Regions from separate parts of the Homo sapiens genome. Here all the other regions are linked to region 4. Evidence: promoter capture Hi-C in 16 types of primary human blood cells and fetal thymus (Javierre and others, 2016). All regions are on one chromosome and are shown on one strand. The core of a region is centred on a gene start or on the middle of the fragment in contact, and the rest is flanking DNA. Distances in the headings are between cores, read along the strand shown.

Region 1 (3,091 bases), core at 320-2,819, 3.0 Mb after region 4:
GATGCTTTTTTCATGCAGAGATTTCTTTATGTAGGCAAATTTAGCAATTCTTTCACTAAAACTTTTCTAGTGAGGTCCTTCCCACTCAAAGATCATAAAAGACTATAAAAATAATTATCCTTTGGTTTCTTTTTTTAAATTTTTGATTACATCTTTGATCCTTCTGGAATTAATTTTGGTGCAAGGACTGAGGTAGGGGCTCACGTTTCCTTCCCGATGTCAGCCACTACTTTTGGTCTTTTAATCTATAAAAGCAGGGCACTGGGTTAGAATTTCCTAAATTCTCTTATATATCAAACAAAGCACTCACTGCAAACTTGATCAATAGAGGAAAGTATGCTTTTTTTGTATTTTACCTTTTACCAGTTTCACTTACTGTAAATCATAAGGTTGTCTTACATAGTAGAAAAATAGCATTATCTTAAACCTGGCTTTTTATTACTAAATATATCACTAAAAATGCTTTACAAAGCAGTAATGATTTTATTTCTTGGGGAATAAAATCAAGAAAGCTAAAGGAGCTGCTATGCCACTGTGTAAGATCTAGTCCTTTAAAAATGAAATTTCATACCTCACCATGTTTGGATTAGTTCTTCATGAGATTCCTGTTGGAGACTGACAGTTTTAGAGAAAGGCAGAGTATTTATTGACATTAGGAAATGCCAAGACCTATAGAGACTAGCCAGGGAAAAGGACTGGATGTGGTGAAGTGAAGAACATTTTGAAAGTAAGCTCTGTGAGGGCAGTAAAATTTTCACTTTTGTATACTGCTTTGTCTCTAATGCAAGAAACAGTGTTCTAAGCATGTTTGTAAATATACAAATACCCAGGTTAAAGGGGATAGCCACTGTTTAGCTCAGTCCTGTTGCTAGATGGAAATGTGAATATAGGATTCCCAGATCTCTCAAATTTTCAAGTGGAACTAGAACTCGTGAATTCTGAATTTTAAATACAGTATTGGCAATGAATTCCAATTTTGGGGTCAAAACATGTCTATAGGTAAGATTCTGCCCAAAGGTCACCAGTTTGCCACTTCTATAAATTAAATAGTAAATATAAGTGTAATAATTTTTACTTGAGTCAGGTCCAAGGTTAATAAAAGTTTATATATGCCTTACAGCTAACCATTGTTTTTATAGGTCAGAAACCCTTCTTGCCCTGATTGGAAACTCAACTTACCCTGCAGCAAAGGTAAATAAAAATGTTTCAATTGAACTTCATTGTGCTCCTGGGCCTTTATTCTTCAAGAGTTAACAGTGCAGACTTCTGGTGATCCTCATCCTAGGTGTTACCACATCTATAGAATAGTAACTCAGGAGTGCAATAGACTGTCGCATTAAAAGGAAAGAAAAATAACTTTTCAGCATTATGTAGCACTAAATTTTGGAACTGGAAATGGCCTTTATATCATCTAGTCTTTCATTAGAAAAGCAGGACAATCAACTTGGACATTGTCCTCGGGCAGATAAGAGATAGTAAAATACCATAATCCATTCATATTTGTGTAATTCTTTGATTCTCCAAATTTTTTCCAAAAAATATTAATGGCTTATACAAAGAAAAACAAGAACAAAATATACAAAGAAAAAAACAAGGTTATGAAAGAAATTAAAAGCAAGGTAGTGAATCACGGATTTGAATAGGGCTCTGTTTTTCTTACTGGTTTTGTAACATCAGACAACTCATGTAACATTTCGGTTTCCTCATCTGTAAAATTTGAATGTTTTTGAGGATTAAGTAAAGTAATACATTTAAGACACTTATCCTGGTGGCAAGAAATAGTAAATGCTCGATAAATATTAGCTAAAAGTATATATGCCGATATACATGGGTTAATACAGATACTACGATGGAGTATTAGATAAAGTTCTAGCTCACTGCAGCCTTCACCTTCCAGACTCAAGCGATTCTTCTGCCTCAGCCTCTCAAGCAGCTGGGACCACAGATGTGTGCCACCACACATGGCTATGTTGCCCAGGCAGGTCTTAAACTCCTGGACTCAAGCAGTCCTCTCCCCTTGGCCTCCCAAAGTGCTGCGATTACAGGTGTGAGCCACTGTTCCAGCCCTGAGGTTCTTGATAGTCTAGGTAGAGAGGAAAATTAAAGAAGTTATGTGGAAAACATACATTCTTTAGGAGAGTTTTTCCTGGCACCAAATAAATATTCATCCCACAGAGTTAGAGGGATATTGAGTACTGGACTTGATTATGTCCTTGACCCCAGTACTAAATTTGTGAACTTGGACAAGTTATTTAACCTATCATGTATAAATGTATTAACATACTGTATGTTTACTTTTAGTCACTTTTGAGATTGATAAAAAGTGCTGAATAAAGTGTTTTGGGAAGTGCCTTTTTCATTCAATCCTGTACACCTAAAACTTGTTTATAACAACTAGTTTATTCATATTCATCTCTGTAATATTCCATTGTGTGATTATATCACAATTCATCCTTTCTCCTGTCAATGGGCATTTAGGTTGCTTCCAGGGTTTTCGCTATTGCAAATGGCTGTGGTATAAAAATTCCTGTATAGCTCTCCTGACACTCAAGCGTACTTCCCCTCCAATAACCTGGATTGTAGATTCTAGCTGTTTCAGCAGCCGGAAACCTCCACTCCGCCTCCTCAGTTCAGCAATACCACCATTCTGAGCCGCATTCCTTGCACCATGGTTGGGAATGTCCTCCCATGGAGACAGACATGGTGAACCTGGGATTCACCTTGTGTATTTCCTTTCTTTTAGATATCAGTCTGCTTTGACTAGTATCCAATTCCTGAAAACAGTTGCTTCATATATTTTGTCCAGCATTAACTGTTGTTTGGGGTAGCAAGATAAGTCCACTTAAAATTATAGCCGGAAGTGGAAGTCTATTCATCCCTATTTTCTATTCAAATATTTAGTTTTGTTTCGGTTAGTTAATTCTTAATACAGCTGTGGTTTATTTGCTCAAACCAAAAGCCCAAGAGAAATTTCATTTAAAGGTAATTTGAAGGATACAATATCTTAGATATTCTTCAAGATGCACTTATCACATCACAGTTTCATAATGCTCAACACTTCTTAAAGTGCTTTCACATGGAATAATTTTCA
Region 2 (2,861 bases), core at 184-2,683, 2.1 Mb after region 4:
GCGCCCACCTGCTCCTCTGCCCACGGTCGAAGGAGTGAATTTCAAAAGTGCTTTTCTTGGCTTCTAAAAATGTGAGAGGGCGATCCGCGAGCTTGGGCGCGCTGCCTGCGAGACTGGCGCGCCCACAGGAACCGGCACTCAGGTGACGGGCTGAAACTGGTGCCTGCAGCGACTGCTATTTTGGCCCAACCAGCCTCTTCAGGCTTCGGCGGTACACGCCCCGGGGGTAGTTACAGTCCTCCTGGCTCTGATGAGTCTCTGCCCGCGGAAGATCAAAAAGGCTGAGGTTGGCAAGGGCGTTCCTCCCGCACCCGACGGCTGAGAAGGAAGATGGGCAGGATAGGTAGTGGGGAGGGCACAATCTAGTTAACACTCGGAATCCTGTCTGAAATAAAGGAAAATGCATGTTCAGACTCCCAAGAGACCCGGAAAACGCGGAGGATCTGCCAAAAGCATTCCAAGAAGAGAAGAAACCAACGCCAGGGAGAGATTCTTTTATACACATTATGGCAGCTGCACATGGCTTCCGTCAGTAACTGGGGCCAGGGGGTGTGAGGACGGTGACCGGGAGCCAAGGAGAGGGCCACGGGAACCGAACACCGGAGTCCCTATGGTGTTGCGCTGTGGGAGTCCAATGTCTAGTCCTGGAGCCTCCGAGAGCGCGCTGGTGGTCCTTTGGGACCTTCCCTTTCGGTAAGGACCCAGAGGAGGGAAGTCGAATAGGAATGGAAACCCGAAAATCGCAGATAGGTTCGCTTACTAGAGCTGTTTCTAAAACCCACTTAACAGCCAGCTGAGCTTTCAGTGGAGAGACTTCCTTTACTTACACAGTAGTTTGAAAGTTCTGCAGTTTTGTGTTTATAGATTTAATTTTAGAAAGCTAATGTGTATGCCACCTTCCAACTGAGCCCCCTGTTCCAGGATATCTTCTTTCCAAGATCCCAGAGAAGGACCCTCAGAAGCACTCTCTGCGGCAACGCCCCCATCTTATTTACCTGTGATTTTACTTCCCTTTATTATAAAGAGTAGGCGAAGATGTCGTTGGGTCAGTACTTATTTTACCAGGTGGCCAATTCTTCCCAAAACTCTGGCAAAGAGCACTTTAACCCCTGTCTTTTCCTTCTTTCACTAATCTTGGCTGGGAAATTCCATTTTTCACCGGGGTGGGTGGGTGGGGTGCAGTGGGGATGGTAGTGTTGCTTCTAATGTTCTGTCATTCAATTCACAAATATTTACTTGATGCCTACTGTTTTAGACACTGGGGACACAGTTTAAAGACACACATGCACACAACAGTTTAAAGACACACATGTGCGCATACACACACACACACACACACACACACAGACCCTTTCCTAGAGCTTCCACTCTAGAAGGAGTCTCAGGTTAACATTAGGACTCACTTTGGGCTGGGAGCTGAGAGGATGTGATTTTTAACAGAAACGTAAGGAACAACGCCAATCATCTGGTCAAAACTTTTCTCTGTGTCACCTAAGAAGTATCTTCATTATGTGTAGTTTAAGTCATAGCCTTTCCACAATGTAATTGATGTGCTTAATAGCAGATAGCACTCTCCACACCTTTGTGCTCACAGAGGCTATTTTCATTGCTGGGGTGGGGGGTAAGATGAAGGGTACTCCAGGCCATTCTCAACTGGTGTTGGTCATTGTTCAACTTATGAAGTCAACAATTTCAGATTTTTAGTGTCCTGAAAATAATCTTGGCCCCCACATCTTCAGTAACACAATGCCGACTTCAAGACAAAAAGCAGGTTCTGTCCCTCACTGAGAGAGGGATTTTTCTCACTCCATCAGCACTGAGCTTGGATCTTTTACTTACCTGAGGTCTCATTCTCCTCCTCCTCTCTAGGGGAGTAGGAGTTGCCTGGGAAAGAATTAGCAGCTCCTGAAAGGCAGGTTTCTCCATGCATTGACTGATTTTGCTGGAAAGTTTTTCCATTTCTCTTTCTCCACTGAAAGTCTCCTCCTCAGTGAGAAGGGAAGCTGCCCATTGAACACTGGGGCAAGGAAGCTCTCTGGGCCTTCTTAACTACACGGGCCACTCTTGCTGAGCACAAAGATACAGATTTAACTACCCCTTAACAAAGAAGAGAATTAAAAATGACCCACCAAAGAAAACTAGAATAAAAACAAAGGCAAAGCGGCCACCGCGAGCTGTTTGATTATTTTCTCTGACTTTGCTCTTTGATTGGAACCTGCCTCATCAGAAATAAAAATAAATAAGAACACAAAACGTTGATTGGTTCTTCATCAGTGAATGTGTCCATGGCTGATACAGAGAGAAAAGAAAATAAATCCTGATTGCTTAATGAAAAGAAGAAAAAAGTAATTTGTATAAATAGAGCTTTAGAAAAAGGAACTGAAGAACCGCGCAGGAAAAGGCTGCCTGGACCAGCGGGACATTCGCTGACGCGAGGGAGCTGGGGATTCTGGAGTGAGTCTTTGCGGAACCCGCGGCAGCCCTTAGAGAAACTGAGCCACAGATCAAACAGCAGGGAGCTGGCCTTAATTTTATTTGATCATCAAAGGATCGGATAACTCAGCAAGGCGTCGATGTCTGCATTTTAGGAAGCACTGAAAACTTTAGAAAGGTGTTTGCACTTCGGAGTGGCTTCTTCTGCACGTGATGCACAAAAGAAAAGCCTCTTACCCGCAGGAAAGTACGGCTGTTCCTGTGTCTTGACCGTGCCAGATCCGGTAGACACCGTGTGAGCGCTATTGACTGTCCAGCGACTTGCGGAGCTGAGAGCGTAGTGGTGGTCACTTCCCTGAGAGGTGGTGCCTACTGAGCTGGGGACCCAGAACGCTACTCTTCAGCCTCAAGTAGCATCCTGGAGGTCT
Region 3 (2,881 bases), core at 302-2,801, 2.0 Mb after region 4:
TAAAAATTGACAAAACTAAAAGTTCCTCTTTTGAAAAGACAAACTAAATCAACAAATCCTTGGCTAGACTTTAAAAATAGAAGACTCAAACAAAATCAGAAATGAAAGAGGACACAATTGATCCCACAGATATAAAAAGTATCATAAGGGACTATTATGAACAATTATATGCCATCAAATTGGACAATCTAAAAAAAAATGGGTAAATTCCTAGAAAAATATAACTTACCAAGACTGAATCAAGAAGAAATAGAATGCTTGAATAGACAAATAACAAAAAAGGAGATTGATGGAATAATCAAAAAATTCCCAACAAAGAAAAGCCAAGAGCCAGATACATTCTAGCAAACATTTAAAGAAAAATTAATACAAAACCTTATTAAACATATCTAAAAAAAAAAAAAAAAGAAGAGGGAACACTTCCAAAGTCATTCTGAGGCCTGCATCACCCTGATACCAAAGCCAGACAAATACACTACAAGAAAACTACAGTCTAATACATTTGATGAATATAGACGTAAAAATCCTCAATGAAATGTTAGCAAACCAAACACAACAGCACATTAAAAGAATCATATACCATGACCAAGTAGGATTTTTCATTGTGATGCAAGGATGGTTCAACATATGACAACCAACCAATGTAATATACTGCATTAATAGAATGAAGGATAAAACTCACATGGGCATCTGCACAGATGCAGAAAAAGCACTTGACAAAATTCGATACTCTTTTGTGATAAAAACTCCCAATAAACTAGGTATGGAAGAACCTTATAGCAAATTAGGTAAAGGAAAAACAAAATAAAGTCCATTTATGAGAAGCCCACAGCTAAGATACTTAAAGATAAAAAACTGAAAGCTTTCCCCATAAGATGAGGAACAAGGCAAGGTTGCCTACTTTAGCCTCTCCTATTCAGCGTAGTATTTTAAGTCCTAGCCAGAATAACTAGGTAAGAAAAATAAATTAAAAACATCCAAATAAAAAGAGAAGAGGTACAATATCTGTTTGCAGATGACATGATCTTAGATGTAGAAAACCTTAGGGACCCCAACAAAAATGTGAGAATAAACAAATTTGCCTTTAAAAAAGAAGGAAATCCTGCCATTTGCAACAACATGGATGAACCTGAAGGACATTATGCTAAGTGAAATAAGCTAAACACAAAAAGACAAATACTGTATTATCTCAATGTATGTGAAATCTAAAATAGTCAAATACATGCAAGCAGAGAATAGAATGGTGGTTGTAAGGGAACATGGGGAGAACAAAATGGGAAGCTGTTGTTCAAAGGGTACAAAGTTTCAGTTAGGCAAAATAAATAAGATCTGCAGGTACAACCCAGTGTCTGTGATTAGCAATATTGTATTCTTAAAATTTTGCTAAGAAGTTAGATCTAATGTTAAGTGCTCTTATCACAAAACGTGAAAAAAAGATGAGTAGAAGGAAACTTTTCAAGGTGATGGCATTGATTTCTTGTAGTAATAATGGTTGGATGGTTTCACAATATCTACTTATCTCCAAACAGAAACTGTATACATTAAATGTCTATAGCTTTCTGTATGTCAATCATACCGCAATAAACAGGTTAAAAAATGAAGCAGCACCAGATCCCTGTACACACACCTCTAAAAATAGTCCCTTTGTATATAAAGCACCCCAAATTTTCTCCTTCTGAGTGTGTTATCTACTTAATTAAGGGCCTGGACTACAAAATCCAAGTTTTCACTTTTCACCCAAAGTTTTCCATTCTCACACACAGAATTTTCTCGTTCAGTTAGCAGATGCAAGAAGAGAATTTCAGATATTAGCTTTAAATACTACATTCTTGTCTATACCTGGTATTACTAGCTCTACCTAATTCATTTTCTTTCTTACCATGAAATTATAGAAACAAAAAGGTTACTGCAAAACACTTATAAACATATTGTCAGCATGAAATAATTATAATTATCCTATAATAAATTGTACCTTTTGAACAATTTTGGTCACTTTTTGATCTTCGTGTATTAATAAGTTAATACATGTAAATCATAACCAGAAGGGAAAATCAAAACATTCCACTTACCAAGTAATGATGAAAAAGAGAATGTGTGTGATTTAGTTAATTTAAAATATTATAGAAAGCAACAAATAACAGAAATGGTATCTGGGATAAAGTTCCTGGACCTGGATAAGGATGTTTGGTGATATCTCAAGCTGTTCAACACCTTTGCACATGCCATTTCTTCAAGCTTGAAGAGATACAGAGCAACTCCTTCCCTCTCCCATTCTCCATCTGGCTAATACCCCTCGGCATCCTGCTTAAATGTCACCACCTCAAATAAGTCTTAGATCCCAAACTAATTAATCCCCCTCATTAATTTTCTCTAATAGACCCAGTTCTTTTCCTTCTTGGTACTTATCATAATAAAGAACCAAAATCTGTGCCAAGGGTCCAAAATAGCACTCTACCTGAAAAGCAACACTTAATCCTTGTCATTTCTCAGCTCTATTTCAGAATGAGCTGGGTTACTACCTGGGGTCCCATAACGACCTATATCCCAATGGCCTAGAAATAGAAGGAATACACCGATTCCCCCTCTTGATGCTGATTCTTCACTTTAATAAGCCACCACCATTGTCAGTCAAGATGTTTTGCACTGTCATCGGTCCCAAACTCCTGCTGGTTAGCCAGCTGTCTACTTCCAAGAAGAAAAGGTGAACACAGAAAAAAAGGCAAGAAATTCAAAATATCTATGCTTTTTACAGAAAGAGTAAATGGTACAATTATTTTGGAAAACTTACTGGTGATACCTACTAAAAGCTGACATACATGGGGCCTATGAAACAGGAATATGACTCTGAAGAATGTACACAACAGAAAAACACATACGTGAA
Region 4 (3,137 bases), core at 75-2,574:
GTTTAATATGCACCAAGCTCTTCTAACCCTCACAGGGCTGACAATGGCAGTGCTGATGTCCACCCCAGGTCTATTCGAACAATATCTAACAAACATCAGTACAGTAATTTAAAAAAAAAAAAAAAAGGTGGGGGGAGAAGGCTCGCTATTTGATAACTGGCTTCTTGGCGATTCTGACAAAGAAATAAACTAAGGTTAAAGAACTTGTGTAAGACGGAAATAGAGTAGAAGGGTATGAGAACAAGAGATGGAAAAATACGACGATTAAAGACAAAAGTGCCAGAGAATAAAATCAAGGACAAAATAGGCAATAGCGAAATGGCACTGTCATTTCGAACTGCATTTTTTGGCGTTTTCGCAGACTTCTTCAAGTGGTTGGCAAAAGAAAAAGAAATAAAGAAACCCAACAAAACAAAAATCTCGCTGTATCAGAAGGCTAAGATGCTTAATTCTCTCAGTGCCCAACATCTCTGGCCAACTTCAAAGCAGCTCCAACTGTTTACTGCCTTCTGAAGGTGCAAAGGCAACAACTGTAAAGGGAATGTCAAACAGGGCAAACTCGGGTGATGAATGACACAAAGACAACCCCGTCCTGTGGCCTCCAGAGCCGCCAGGAAACCCCACGGAAGCCCGACCCAGAGCGCGGCGGCAGCGCCTGGAGGGCCTCGCATGCGGACCACGAGCGGCACCGGACGCGCGGGAGGCGCCAGCCCAGGCGGGCGGCGGCGCCGGCTCTGCTGTTGTGTTGCTCCCTCATTGGCCAGGCGTGGGTGGAGGGAAGTGAGGAACAGGAAGCAAGCGGAGGCACCGACCTGAGGAACGCTCAAAATTAAAATTTAAGAGCAAGCCCGGGAATTTACGGTGGAGGGGTGCAAGTTCCGAGGGGACGCCGGAAAAGCCTGCGACGTCCACCCCTGACGACCGCCCTCGGGGGCGAACTGCCGCTCAGGAGGGCGATCCGGACGCCCTGCCCGCGGCCCCGGCACGGCAGCCCCGGCGCGGCGGCCCGGCTTCGGCTTCCGCCCCAGCCCGGTCCCGGCGTCCTGCACCGCCGGCCCGGCCTCACTCACAGCATGATCCGCGAGACGTGCAGCCGCACCGGGACGCTCCTGTCTTTGAAGGCGGTGGTGATGAAGCAGCCGAAGGTGAGCGCCGCCATCACGCTCAGCGAGAAGGCGAACAGTGAGTTCGCCCGCGACAGCACCGTGTTCATCGCGATCGTCTCCCACGAGTCCGGACTCCACACGCACACCCAGGCTCCCGTTCCGGCGGCGGACCGGCTCCCTGCGATCCGCGCCGTCTGCGGTGCGCGCGTTCCGGGAGCGCGCGCCGCCGCAGCCCCGCCTCCTTTCCGGTCCTCCGACGCGAGCGCGCGCGCGCCCGCTTCCCGAAACACACCCACAGCGCGCACGGGGCGGCGCGGAAAGGGAGAGACTCAGCCGCGGGCCCGCCCCTCCGTCGCGGCCTAACGCCGCCACCAATCAGCGACGAGTGAGGGAGGGGCGGGGTTTGTTGTGGAAGACCCACCCCCTCCTCTTCTAAATTGCTTCTCCGACCTTTGGGTTCAGAGAATTGGGAACCGGTCGTTCGCTGTCCTTTTTCGGTTCTTTGGTCAGAGGTCTGGGACTGCGACTTCTTGATTACTTATGTACCATTTATTTTCACTTGAAACCGGCAGCAAGTTAAGGTGGTTTAGAATCTGTCCTGACGGGTGGCGTTTGGAAGCAGCACTTTACAAAACGCCTGGTCCTCTCCCTTCTTTGTCAAACCTGGTCAAAGTTAGGACTTGAGCTTTTTTTGGAGGATCTGAGGAGCAGTGGGGAGTGGGGAATTAGCCGCCCAAGTCCTTAAAGCTGTCACGTGCATCAGTATTTCCACCTCCAACGTCAGTCCAATTCCTATTAATGCTTTGCTTTGTATGGATAGCTAAAGATGTTTTAGAAGATAAGGGTTGAGGCTACCGATCCTAAGTATTTGCATTTTAACATGGTGATTTCTGATAAATAAAAGGATAACCTTTCTGGGTTCTTAGGAGCAAAGAAGATAATGGCTGCGGAATTGCTCTACAGCATAATGTATAAGAATTTCGTTGGGTCATTAATAAATAATGCAATTATTTTATCACATTTTCAATATCCTGAAGGGCATTAGGGTTCAAACCGAGCCAATCCTGACTCTGATTATACTATCTGCCAAAACCTTTGTTCCTTTCACAGCTAAGGGTTTTTATAAAAATGGATTCAGGGTCTGCTGAAATAAATTTTTTTTAAAAATTTCAGTCCATAAACCAAACAAAAATATCTGTCCTGGAATGTGATCAGGAACAAACCAGAAAACTGTGAACATCTGATCTTGATACTGGCTTATGTTGTCTCTTGTTAAGCTTTTGCTTCTTTGCATTATTCATGACCATTCAATTAATTTTTGTATAGCCATACAGGTAGGATTATTACCAAGTGCCTACCGTGTACCAGGAATAGTTCTAAGCCTTGAGAATACAGCACTAATAAGGCAGACTCCCTGCTCAAATAGAGCCAACTAATGAAAAATCGATAAAATAGAGACTAAAGAGAGATCCTTAGTTGCGTTTAAAATCTTAGTTTTTAACTTCCAGGCTGGCACAGTTTGTTAACAAAAAAAGAAAAAAAAGGATTTTTATTGAATGCCATCTATACTGCAAGTGATACAGAGATTGTACTGATCACTTTCTACACTCAAAAGTATATAATCAGGTAGAGTTAATAAAATAAAAACAAATCTGAAATGTAAAACAAAAAAATACCCTGGGAAGTTACATAGCAAAGGAGGAAGGAATTACAGCCCTGGTAATGTGGGACAACACAGTGTGCAAATTATTTAACACAAAGCCTAAACAAGACACATTATTATTATAGCATGTTTTAGGGAAATAATTCTTGTTGTTGAACTGCAAGTACAGGTATATCTAAGAGATACTCAGAAGGCTGGTCCTGATAAACAATGCATGTATAAAAGAGTAAGCAGAAATAAGCCTGGAAAGGTAAGTTATGGTAGAAAACCAGGTCAAGAAGTTGACTTTATATCAGGGAAATTACATGTAAAACAAGCATCGCTACACAGGCAACCATTTACCAGTTATATGTGGAGAGTGAGTGATG
Region 5 (2,823 bases), core at 32-2,531, 3.0 Mb after region 4:
GTGATCTTTCTTTAGTTAGAGGGGAATCCAAAATAGTTAAAATGTGAATGGCCAAATACTTACTGCTTATCTCAGTTTTCTGATGAGTTACTATAATGAAATAATCTAGTCCAGAAATAAATGACTTGTCTTGGGCTTGCTACGCAAAAGAAGAAAAAAATGCTATTAAAAAAGTTATTAGCCAATGGCTGCATATAATAGAATATCTATCTAACAGTATTATTATGAGTTTATTTTTCTGACATATAAGAAGACTGAGAGAAGATGGTTACTGGTAATGGTTCAGTAGTTCAATAATGTCCGGGTTGATGTCTACAATTTTCTTGCCTTTCTCTTATGCTACTGAGAATAGCTTTCTCATGATTGGTTTGAACCCGCAATAATTTATCATTACCTTTTTTATAATCAAGATATTTTTTAAAGTAAGAAGAAAGGAGAAAATGGGTTTTGGGTAATTAACAGAGTTCTGAACAACAACCTAGATTTAAGAATTTTAGACAAAGGTATAGAACAAGACCATGCTACTTTATAGTTTTCAAACATAAAGGTTTTTAGAAGTTAACAGTAATGAGTTATTGATATGAATTATAAGTTTAAAAACACCTATTAACCTAGAAAATATTTAATGAATATTTAATAATCATTACATTGAAAAATTCATCCAATAAATATTTGAGCCTATGCATATGCATAGCACTGTACTAGGCCTTAGGAGAGATGTAAAAACATGATATGCACCTCCTGCCTTCAAGAAACTCCTAAACAATAATTTTTGGTATTACATTTTATATTTTATAACACTCTCTCATAGGCGTTCTTTCTTTTGAAATTTATAACTCCATGCATTAGGCAGATAAAATTTTTACCTGATGAAGAAGTTGAGACAGACCCTGCTCTTGTCTCTCTGGCCATTACCACTTCAACATTGATTTCTTGACCTGAGGGCTTTCTCCAAAGCTGTGGAAGGCAGCTCTGTCCCTATGTGATCAGGGCAATTTGGAAATGCCTGGGAATTAACAAACTCCCACTCTAGCAGCCTTCACCAAGTGACTGGAAAGATTTGTTATATAGATACCCCAGCTCACTTGGCCTTCAGATGGGATAACTTTGAGGCCTGTGTTTTCCCAGAGTTTTCTCATGGGATTATGCTCCAGTCATTATAAGTGGTATCTGGCTTGATACCGCACCCTTTATTGACTGTTTTCCCTTCTTTGTCTCGCTTCCCCACCTCCTACTGGTGTTTCCTGCATCTCTTAGATAAACTATTTGCAACAAAATCCTTGTCTCAGGTTTCTATTGAGCATTTCCACTAGGTTATTTCCCCTAATACCTGCCCTGAAAGTGCCTGGCTTAATGAGGGGGGCACACGATTCAAATCAAGCCAGTTGGAATCCTTCACAGGGAAATTTTGTCCAGTCTGAAATACTGAGAAAGGAACTCTCTTCCTTCATCCTTGTTTCATTTTGGTTTTGCATCATTCTATTTCGAGTAGTGTCCGGCACAACGTAGAAACTTAATCTTTCTGGAATATTTAATGAATCCAATTCCTACAATTTCTTTCCTGCCAACTTGCATTCATCATCAGCCATTAATTTTAAAATGTATGAAATAATGTTGCTATAGCATATCATAGTGTCACTGCATACTGTAGTAGTTAAGTGCATGGACTCAGGAGCTAGACTGCTTGAGATATAAACTCTGCCACTTGCCAGTTGTTTGACTGTGCTGGTTATATTTCTGTTGTCTGTCAGTTCCATTCTCATTCTTTTACTCTCTCTATATTACAGAGTACTGGAATTCTAAATATCATTTCCCAGATTCACTTGCCAATTTCTTTCCGGTTCAGTTCTGTTAATGGGAGATTCAAGGCCAAGAGGATGGAAGGCATTTTTGCTTTTCTTCTGGCTCCGGCCTCTGCAATGCTGTGCTCTACTACCCTGACTCCAGGAGTGGCCCGAATAGGGTGAAGGATGCATAATCCTCAATTATGCGTAAGTGCATTTTTTCAGTCTAATTAGAATTCCAGGCTTTAAAATTAGATGTATATTTTGAAAAGTATATCTGAAAATTTCATAGTTTGTGAATATATTTTTAAATACAGTCAAAATACTAAGCACAGTAACAACACGATTTAGAGGACAAAGTTGTAAATATGCCACCTTTATATTTATAAGAGTATTTACACAAGAATTTGCAGTTTTAAGTCGTTATCAATCATTGAGTTGATATAAGGTCAATATAGTATTAATATATCACCTACACAAAAGCAGATAAAAAGTTATTTTCAGCAGGGCATGATGGCTCACACTCGTAATCCTAGCACTTTGGGAGGCCAAGGCAGGTGAATCACTTGAGGTCAGCCTGGCCAACATGGTGAAACCCCACTTTACCAAAAATACAAAAATCAGCCGGGCATTGTGGCGCATGCCTGTAATCCCAGCTGCTTGGGAGGCTGAGGAAGGAGAATCACTTGAACCTGGGAGGCGGAGGCTGCAGTGAGCTGAGATTGTGCCACTGCACTCCAGCCTGGGCAACAAAGTGAGAGTCAGTCTCAAAAATTTACAAAAGGATGATTTCCTAATATGAAAGTGACAGATATTCATCTGAATATGGGCCAAATGAACATTTCTATTACAATTCAAGAACTACAGGCTGGGCGCGGTGGCTCACACCTGTAATCCCAGCACTTTGGGAGACTGAGGCAAGTGGATCATGAGGTCAAGAGATCGAGACCATCCTGGCCAACATGGTGAAACCCCGTCTGTACTAAAAATACAAAAATTAGCAGGGCGCAGTGGCACGTGCCTGAAGTCCCAGCTACTT
Region 6 (3,079 bases), core at 50-2,549, 2.0 Mb after region 4:
ACATATGCACATTATTTCATTTAATTCTCATAAAAATCATACAAGGGGGACATTTTTATTCTTATTGTGTAGGGAAGGAAACAGTGACCCAGAGATGTTAATATCCTCATTGTTTTGCTCATTTGACTCTGAATTTCTCTCTTCCTTGTCCTATGTTTTGGACTCCCAAGCCTCTTGAGGTTTCTGCAAGGTACATAAGCTTCTGCTTCCCTCTCCATACGATTGCAGACTATCCTCTGTCTTTCTCTACATGGCTTCATTAGTAGCCACTCCTCCTTCTACTTTTCATGTTGCAGAAATATGTTGAAATCTCATGTTCATGAATGTCCTGTTTTCATTTTCTTTTAGTTGTAGTTTCTACCTTTTTTTTCTCTGTCATTTTATGGGAGAGAGAGGTGATAAATATATGTGCTCCATCTTACAAGAATACAACCAAGGTTGAGATTTTTTTCCAAAAAAGTTCCATAAAAGATTGTTTCAAAAGTGAGTCCAAAAATTGTTTCTTCTGTTTCCTGTCCAATTGATATCTTACAAATTGCAAATCATGGTCATGAGATGATACCCTGCCATTTATACTTATCCCAATATTAGTTTAAAACCTATTCCTGAGAAGCCGAGGCGGGCGGATCACCTGAGGTGAGGAGTTCGTAGACCATCCTGGCCAACATGGTGAAACTCCGTCTCTACTAAAAATACAAAAATTAGCCAGGCGTGGTGGCAGGTGCCTGTAATCCCAGCACTCGGGAGGCTGAGACAGGAGAATCACTTGAACCTGGGAGGTGGAGGTTGCAGTGAGCCGAGATCGCGCCATTGCACTGCAGCTGGGGAACAAGACAAGACTAAATCTCAAAAAAAAAAAAAAATACTATTCCTAAGACATGAGCATGAATAAAAATGATCTTGAAGTTTAGCATATTAAATTTAAGCTATGTAATACCAAAAGAGCTTTTGTAGAAAGAAAAACACCATATATGTTTAGTAATCCTAGATATAACTTTACTGAAATGTTAGCAGGTGGGAGGACAACAGATCATATAGGGGTGATAGTGGCTGTTTGCTCTATAAAAGGACCTTTAGCTAAGTAGGAAACTTTATGCAGTCTTCTAGATAAATACCTCTCAAAGGCATTATTTTTTAATAATGCTGGACTCTTCCTAAAATCATGTTACTTTCCATTTACGTCTTCCCAGCTACTGTGCCACAGCAGCATAGGACTTTAGGAACAGAAAGTTAAGTTTGAAATGTAAGCTATGATAATAAACCAAAATATGAAATTCTTATACATGAGATTAATTTAATAAAATAGCTCTGTCTCGGCTAATGTGGCATGTTTATACACAATACCACTGAGTGTTCAAGGTCGCACAGTTTGGTTGCCAGTCCACATTCAGTAGCCATTCAGTAGCCATTCATGTCAGGCTTCTAAGTTTCCTGTTTACTACCATGCTCCCTGAGTGTATTTGCAGGTAGTACAGAATTGAACATGAATATTTTATCCTTAAACCAAAACAGTATATAATAGCTCTGAGACACAAGGAGCATTAGTTGACTGCTGTATTAAAATGGTTATAATTAATTGATAGTTATATTTGCATAATTTCAGGGAGTAGAAATTCTGGGATCATATTCGTTTGCCTATTTGGCTGTTGCTTCATTTGATGCTTCATCCAATTTATAAAGGAGTTCTGATTTATTCTATTTTGTGCTAATCATTCTCTGGAAATTATCAATTTAAGTTTACTAAATAGTATCTAAATCTTCAGTTGTAAGTATTCATTTTATTACCATTCTTTTTTTTTTTTTTTGAGACGAGTCTCACTCTGTTGCCCAGGCTGGAGTGCCACATTCTCGGCTCGGTGCAACCTCTGCCTCCCGGGTTCAAGTGATTCTCCTGCCTCAGCCTTCCCAGTAGCTGGGATTACGGGCGTGCACCACAATGCCAGGCTAATTTGTGTATTTTTAGTGGAGACGAGGTTCGCCATGTTGGACAGGCCAGTCTGGAACTCCTGACCTCAAGTGATCTGCCCGCCTCGGCCTCCCAAAGTGCTGAGATTACAGGCATGAGCCACCACTCCTGGCCGCATTTTATTACCATTCTGAAAAATAAGGAGAAAATGTACAGTTGCGATTGCTTTGGGGTTTTTTCCCCCATTTTTTTTTTTGTTTTTATTTCCTTGGAAAGGAAGAGTTTCAACTTTGAAATCTTATGGAGAATTTTTTTGTAGCATAATTTCTCTCTGTGACCTAAGTAATTATGAAATTTTTGTTTACTTCTGTCAGATGATAAATAATGAAGTTATGTTTCTGTGTTTGTAGACCAAGAAAAAACATGTTTGGTTTCATTTCGAAGCTCCTTAGAAAGAATTCTATAGATCCTCTCAACATGATAAAGAAGCTTTGAACAAAATAAATTCAAATTTGGAAGAAAAGGCATGGGACACCTTGAATTGTATTAATTACAGTTGATCTTCATTATTTATAATTTTGTATTTGTGAATTTACCTACTCACTAACATTTATTTGTATCTCCCAAAGGAGTACGCCTGGTGCTTCTGCCGCCTTTAGCAAACATGCGCAAGAGCTGAAAAAACTGTTGTTCAAGGTGCACATTCGCAGCTGAAGTTGAAGGCAAGGCTCTGCCTTCTTATCTTAGCTGTCATTATAAACAAGTGTCCTTTTTGTGGCTTATTTAATGCCACATTTCCCACATGCTTTTTCTTGGTGATTTTAGTGTTTAAAACGGCCCCCGGCCGGGCGCGGTGGCTCACGCCTGTAATCCCAGCACTTTGGGAGGCCAAGGCGGGCGGATCACGAGGTCAGGAGATGGAGACCATCCTGGCTAACACGGTGAAACCCCGTCTCTACTAAAAAATACAAAAAATTAGCCGGGCGTGGTAGCAGGCGCCTGTAGTCCCAGCACTCTGGAGGCTGAGTCAGGAGAATGGCGAGAAACTGGGAGGGAGGCGGAACTTGCAGTGAGCCGAGATCGCGCCACTGCACTCCAGCTTGGGCGACACAGCGAGACTCCATCTCAAAAACAAAACAAAACAAAACAAAACAAAAAATGGCCCCCAAGCCT

Evidence for each region. Contacts are between HindIII fragments. The CHiCAGO score rates a contact against its expected background, and 5 or more counts as called.
Region 1: a contact is called between a fragment that was not itself captured here and the fragment with the promoter of SPCS3 in region 4, in 2 of 17 cell types (neutrophils and total CD8 T cells). The highest score is 8.1, in neutrophils.
Region 2: a fragment that was not itself captured here is called in contact with the fragment with the promoter of SPCS3 in region 4 in 1 of 17 cell types (non-activated CD4 T cells); the score reaches 5.6 in non-activated CD4 T cells.
Region 3: a fragment that was not itself captured here is called in contact with the fragment with the promoter of SPCS3 in region 4 in 8 of 17 cell types (total CD8 T cells, non-activated CD4 T cells, naive B cells and 5 more); the score reaches 12.8 in total CD8 T cells.
Region 5: a fragment that was not itself captured here is called in contact with the fragment with the promoter of SPCS3 in region 4 in 1 of 17 cell types (neutrophils); the score reaches 10.3 in neutrophils.
Region 6: a fragment that was not itself captured here is called in contact with the fragment with the promoter of SPCS3 in region 4 in 2 of 17 cell types (total CD4 T cells and naive CD8 T cells); the score reaches 8.1 in total CD4 T cells.

The regions. Positions count from the first base shown.
Region 1 is chr4:173,324,769-173,327,859 of GRCh38, reverse strand. No RefSeq gene overlaps it. Among named protein-coding and RNA genes, the nearest start is that of HMGB2, 8.0 kb to the left of the region's middle. The HindIII fragment of the contact is 5,987 bases long and covers 1-3,091 here.
Region 2 is chr4:174,211,565-174,214,425 of GRCh38, reverse strand. The region is part of intron 1 of LINC02268 (long intergenic non-protein coding RNA 2268); the gene reads left to right. Among named protein-coding and RNA genes, the nearest start is that of LINC02268, 7.4 kb to the left of the region's middle. RefSeq lists an enhancer at 61-120. The HindIII fragment of the contact is 4,679 bases long and covers 1-2,861 here.
Region 3 is chr4:174,286,822-174,289,702 of GRCh38, reverse strand. All of the region lies in intron 1 of CEP44 (centrosomal protein 44), which reads right to left. Among named protein-coding and RNA genes, the nearest start is that of CEP44, 4.4 kb to the right of the region's middle. The HindIII fragment of the contact is 1,373 bases long and covers 865-2,237 here.
Region 4 is chr4:176,318,153-176,321,289 of GRCh38, reverse strand. It overlaps SPCS3 (signal peptidase complex subunit 3), which reads right to left and starts at 1,324. Exons shown (of 5, transcript NM_021928.4): 1 at 1,071-1,324. The coding sequence starts at 1,213. It overlaps SPCS3-AS1 (SPCS3 antisense RNA 1), which reads left to right and starts at 780. Exons shown (of 4, transcript NR_186171.1): 1 at 780-1,145. RefSeq lists silencers at 611-690, 721-790, 911-1,030 and an enhancer at 1,013-1,513. The HindIII fragment of the contact is 6,231 bases long and covers 1-2,385 here.
Region 5 is chr4:173,342,365-173,345,187 of GRCh38, reverse strand. No RefSeq gene overlaps it. Among named protein-coding and RNA genes, the nearest start is that of HMGB2, 9.4 kb to the right of the region's middle. The HindIII fragment of the contact is 3,910 bases long and covers 1-2,823 here.
Region 6 is chr4:174,268,405-174,271,483 of GRCh38, reverse strand. The region is part of intron 1 of FBXO8 (F-box protein 8); the gene reads left to right. Among named protein-coding and RNA genes, the nearest start is that of FBXO8, 14 kb to the left of the region's middle. The HindIII fragment of the contact is 2,196 bases long and covers 202-2,397 here.